Regions from separate parts of the Homo sapiens genome. Here region 1 is linked to region 2. The links are contacts of gene promoters, found by promoter capture Hi-C in blood cells and fetal thymus (Javierre and others, 2016). All regions are on one chromosome and are shown on one strand. The core of a region is centred on a gene start or on the middle of the fragment in contact, and the rest is flanking DNA. Distances in the headings are between cores, read along the strand shown. Region 1 overlaps LINC01611 (long intergenic non-protein coding RNA 1611). Region 2 holds the start of TBX18 (T-box transcription factor 18).

What was found. Contacts are between HindIII fragments. The CHiCAGO score rates a contact against its expected background, and 5 or more counts as called.
Region 1: a contact is called between a fragment that was not itself captured here and the fragment with the promoter of TBX18 in region 2, in 1 of 17 cell types (endothelial precursors). The highest score is 5.3, in endothelial precursors.

The regions. Positions count from the first base shown.
Region 1 is chr6:84,451,418-84,454,117 of GRCh38, reverse strand. All of the region lies in intron 3 of LINC01611 (long intergenic non-protein coding RNA 1611), which reads left to right. LOC107986620 (a long non-coding RNA gene) reads right to left here. Exons shown (of 4, transcript XR_001744236.1): 2 at 791-851. Among named protein-coding and RNA genes, the nearest start is that of LINC01611, 22 kb to the left of the region's middle. The HindIII fragment of the contact is 607 bases long and covers 1,095-1,701 here.
Region 2 is chr6:84,763,225-84,765,924 of GRCh38, reverse strand. It overlaps TBX18 (T-box transcription factor 18), which reads left to right and starts at 1,327. Exons shown (of 8, transcript NM_001080508.3): 1 at 1,327-2,035. The coding sequence starts at 1,744. The region is part of intron 1 of LOC124901353 (a long non-coding RNA gene); the gene reads right to left. RefSeq lists enhancers at 1,120-1,414, 1,426-2,009, 2,010-2,594. The HindIII fragment of the contact is 3,607 bases long and covers 1-2,700 here.

The DNA of each region.
Region 1 (2,700 bases), core at 149-2,648, 310 kb after region 2:
TCTCATCTTGATCCCTAACTAATTACATTGGCAATAACCCTTTTTCCAAGTACAATCATGTTCTGAGGTTCCAGGTGGACATTAATTTGGGGCAGAAACTATTAAATCTACTAAAAGGAGGAAGAGGCTTTGAGAACCACATGTGTACTTGATGCCTATGATGATATCCAGGCAGTGGGCAACTTAAAAATAGAAAAACTGATTATCCCATTTGGTTGAAATGAGCAAATTGACTGAACTAATGTTTTTATGTTATGAAGACAAAAAAATAAAAAGAGAATAATTGGAGATATGTATTCATTTAGCAGAATGATTTTTATTAGTAGAGCTGGTACAATCCCAAACAAAGAGGGACTTAATTCACAACATGCCAAGTTTCAGTGAGGCTCCCAACATTCCACTGGAAAGTCACTAGATAGTCACAGAGCATGGAGATGGGCCAAAATGAAACAGAGGAAGTGTAATAACTGAGCATATGGAAGCAATGTAGTGATTCTATTAAGAACTGACAGATAAATGCCATGGGGATTGCAAATCCATCACCTAGTTTTCAGTGATATATAAAGATCAGAGACCTAAAACACTGTTCATTTATATGTGATGTTTTTGCCCTCATCTAAATTTTCTGAAGACCTTGGCTAATGGTACAGAATGTCAATGAGAATTGAATGTGTGATCTCAGAAAATTCAGTGAATTTAGGGACTGAAGAAGAGGAAAACTGATGCTCAAGATACTAATTGATTAAAAGTAGGGTATCAAGCAGTTGAAAATGTTCTGAACAGATCTTACCAGAAGGATCCATTATAAATTGGGGTCCAGACAATACACAAAGTTGTATTGTCATTCTCACCTGTAAAGAATAAGAAAAACAGAAAGTAAATATTCTTACAGAGAATAGCGGAGCATTAAGATTCATTTGCATTTTAAGTCCATTTTATTTTGCCAATGTATTAATATTTAGAGGTCTGTTATACTAATGTTATTAATATTTTTCATTTCCATACACAGTTAACTAAAGAGCTTTTTCTTTAAAAGCTGTAATGTCTGTAAAAAATACTTTTAAATAAAGTTTATTTTGTTAAAAAAAAAAGCTTAACTTGCCAATGGAAGAAAAAAAATGAACTCAATAGATATGTGTCTTATGAGAGGTAGCTGGTGGAGGGAGAGAAGTGCTGGTAGTTATAACAGAAGTGCTAAGAATCATGGTCTAATGGGGGGACTGACTTTCATTGGCCTCTGTACTTCCTCATCATGGAGCTAGCTAAGCTCAAGGTTGACCTGAGCTTTTCTAGAAAGGTGGCATTGCAATAAAATGCAAACCATTCAAGCATGGGATGATGGTGAGAGATGGAGCACAGGCATCAAAATAATCCATTTCCTCTTTAGCTTTACTTCAAATTGATGTTACACAACTAGAGTTCAGTGAAAACAACATGACAGATTAGAAAGAGCTCACAAGAAACAACATGTTCTTAATTTTATTTATAAATGTGACCTGTGACGTGTTTGTGTTCTATCTAGCTAGAAAAGATACAAGAACTCCTTCCTTATCCCCAAATGAAAAGTTACTAGAGTACCCCATCCTTCAACAGCTGCTCCTTCAGTGACCGCTTCTTATGCCCCTGCTGTGACTTGTTCATCAGCAGCATGAGCATCACACAAATCTAAGGGATGCTTCAAGATTACTCAGGGCAAAAGCTTTTATCCCCTTGCAAAGAAATACAGGTTTGCAATCTTGATATTTCCAGAAATGAATTCACTCTTTTCTTACATCCACTAAACACAACCAAGGCATTGTGGTATTTTTCTTAAAAGTATAAAAGTATATTTATTTTTTATTTTTTTATTATACTTTAAGTTCTAGGGTACACATGCATAACGTGGAGGTTTGTTACATATGTATACATCTGCTATGTTGGTGTGCTGCACCCATTAACTGGTCATTTACATTAGGTATATCTCCTAATGCTATCCCTCCCCCCTCCCCCCACCCCACAACAGGCCCTAGTGTGTGATGTTCCCTTTCCTGTGTCCAAGTGTTCTCATTGTTCAGTTCCCACCTATGAGTGAGAATATGTGGCATTTGGTTTTTTGTCCTTGCGATAGTTTGCTGAGAATGATGGTTTCCAGCTTCATCCATGTCCCTACAAAAGACATGATAATTTTTTATGGCTGCATAGTATTCCATGGTGTATATGTGCCACATTTTCTTAATCCAGTCTATCATTGTTGGACATTCGGGTTGGTTCCAAGTCTTTGCTATTGTGAATAGTGCTGCAATAAACATAGGTGTGCATGTGTCTTTATAGCAGCATGATTTATAATCCTTTGGGTATATACCCAGTAATGGGATGGCTGGGTCAAATGGTAATTCTAGTTCTAGATCCCTGAGGAATCGCCACACTGTCTTCCACAATGGTTGAACTAGTTTACAATTATTTATGTTTAATAAGTTATATTAAATTGTCACACCCGAGTCTGGCCCAAAAGCCAGAAAAGTAGTCTTCTGATCCTTAGAATCTGCCATAGCATTAAAACATATTAAAGTTGCAGTTGATGCCTCAGAACGTTTGCAAGAATAACAGACTGAAAAACTGTGAACTCAAAGCAAATTTAGTGCCTGGCTCAAGATAGGGAATAAATCAAGAGCAAAGCAGATTTGCATGTTCTGTTAACCCAGAGATTTAGTTGCAGTTACC
Region 2 (2,700 bases), core at 78-2,577:
CAGGCTGGAGTACAGTAGCGCGATCTGGGCTCACTGCAACCTCCGCCTCCCGAGTTCAAGCGATTCTCCTGCCTCAGCCTCCCGAGTAGCTGGGACTACAGGCGTGCACCACCACGCCCAGCTACTATTTGTATTTATTTATTTATTTAGTAGAGACGGGGGTTTCACCATGTTGGCCAGGATGGTCTCGATCTCTTGACCTCGTGATCCGCCCGCGTAGGCCTCTCAAAGTGCTGGGAATACAGGCGTGAGCCACCGCGCCCGGCCTGCCGTGTATTTTATACAAAAGATGGAGTAATATGCACGATTAATTTTATTCCACAAGAGATTTGCTCTATTTATACCAAACATATATATATATATTTGTTAATCCTAACAAAAAGTCGAGTTGAAACTACAAAACAAATTGTACAAATATATATGTTTGGTGTCATTTAATTAAAAAGCACTGATTTTATTAAATTTGTTTTAAATACATCAATGGACTCCTTAAAAGCCTGAAGTAACGATTGTAAATTGTCAACAGTAGGACAAATATAAACTTACTTAAATCACAGAGAAGTTTTTCAAATGGGGAATTTTATTGCGTCTTCATACTTATTTCATTTTGCGAAGTTTTAAGGGGTTTTAAAGTTGTCCATATCGTTAAAGACGTACAGAATGAAAATCCCATGACCTACGTTTTAAAATAACTACCACTCTTTGAAAGAAAAGGTGGGCTGCGGAAAGGGCGTGCTTTTTCTGACATTTATATGACGGACTGAGCGTTAACGTAACATTTTGCACTCCTAAAGGATTTACATATTTCTTAACCTGGTATCCCCTAAGAAAAAAATCACGGAGTAAAGTTTAAATAAGCCTAAGCCATATCTGGCGCAGACTGAGTGCAGGAACATTTAAATGAGAAAGGAGGGGCCTGCGAATTCTTCCCAGCTTCCCAATATTCTGAGTTGTAGCAACATTAAGCGATACGGAAGTGGGACGGCAATTTACGGAACCTTGAAAGATTCCTGATTTTCTAACTTGTTGAACGTCTAGTTTAAAGCCGGGAACTTCCGCCTTTCCAGGTCCTGGTGAGGAAAGCTGGAGACTACGGGGCTGGACTCAGCTACGGACGTCAGAGAGACAGAGTTCAGCGTCCGTGTGGCTGGCACATCCAAGCCAGACAGCGGCGCTTTTCACTCCTGGTTTTTCGCTACCTTGTAAGGAAGTGGGCGCGGGCTGCGCGGAGTCGGCGCCTCCTGATTGGCCGGCCGTCTGGGTGATGGACAGGGACCCGGGCTCCGCCCCCGCCGCTTTATTGACACTAATGAGCAAGTTCTTCCCACCGCTCTCCTGCCTGGAAGTGCTGACAGATCAAGGCAACAAATTTCAATTACAATCCCTAATTTGTGTCCACAGAGTGTTTTTTACCCATGTTAGTCCTCTCTGGCGCATCAGTTGAGGCAGACCTCGGAGCAGCAGGAGGAGGTGGAAGGGGTGGGAGCAAAGGAGTGCATCAGTGAGAGAGCGCGCGAGAGAGACCCAGGAAAGGAGACTTGGCCGGCGCGTCGCCGGTTCCTGGATCCCAACACAAGCGAGAAAGCGGAAACGCCAAATCTGTTTTTTGCCCGCGGTGGGGAAGGGGGCAGATCTCGGGAGGCCCCGAGAGCCTTTTAGTTTTTGGTGGGGGAAGAGCGAGAGCGCGCGTGTGCCCGCGTGAGTGTATATGAGAGAGGGGCGGGCGGGCGCGGGGCGGGGGGGATGGCCGAGAAGCGAAGGGGCTCGCCGTGCAGCATGCTAAGCCTCAAGGCGCACGCTTTCTCGGTGGAGGCGCTGATCGGCGCCGAGAAGCAGCAACAGCTTCAGAAGAAGCGGCGAAAACTGGGCGCCGAAGAGGCGGCGGGGGCCGTGGACGACGGAGGCTGCAGCCGCGGCGGCGGCGCGGGCGAAAAGGGTTCTTCTGAGGGAGACGAAGGCGCTGCGCTCCCGCCGCCGGCTGGGGCGACGTCTGGGCCGGCTCGGAGTGGCGCAGACCTGGAGCGCGGAGCCGCGGGTGAGTGGGCCCCTTCCTGCCTATAACTTCTCTCCGGCGCGAACCTGAACTTCTGCGAGTCTGTGGGTGTGCGTGCGCGCCGCGTCCCTACATGGCCAAGGCCACTCAGCCACTAGCGCATTGGCCGTGTCAGTCGCAAAGCTCGCCGCGCAACCTGGTCACCCTCCAGACGGTTCAGATACTGCTTCCAGGCTCGCCTCGCGGGCGGCCGCCGCCCACTCGGCGACCCGCGCCTTCGGCCGCGGCTGTTTGCTGCGCCTAGCGGTGCAGCTCTGTGCTTCCTGCATCTGCCTCCCTTGGGGTTCCAGCCAATGGGTGCTCTTTTTTGTTTCCTAACTTTTAAAAGCACAGGGCGGGGAGGAGGGGAGCGACGGCATACCCCACCCTGAAACCGGAACGAATGCCCTAAACCGTTTGTGCAAACCAGGAAGAGGGCGGCATATTTGGAAACTTGGTTTCCCGAAGGGTAGTTGAGCGGTTCCCTTCCCTTCTCCTCTTGATTTCTCTGCCAAGGCCGACGGCGACCGCGGGCTTGCTTTTCACACTTTTCTCTGCTGGGCTGGAAGCGCAGGGCGCCGGGAGTTTGGCGAAAGCGGGGTCTGAAGAGCCTTCTAGAAGATGCCTCCGGCCCGGCCCAAAAGAAGGCCCAAAGCGAGGCGCCGCAG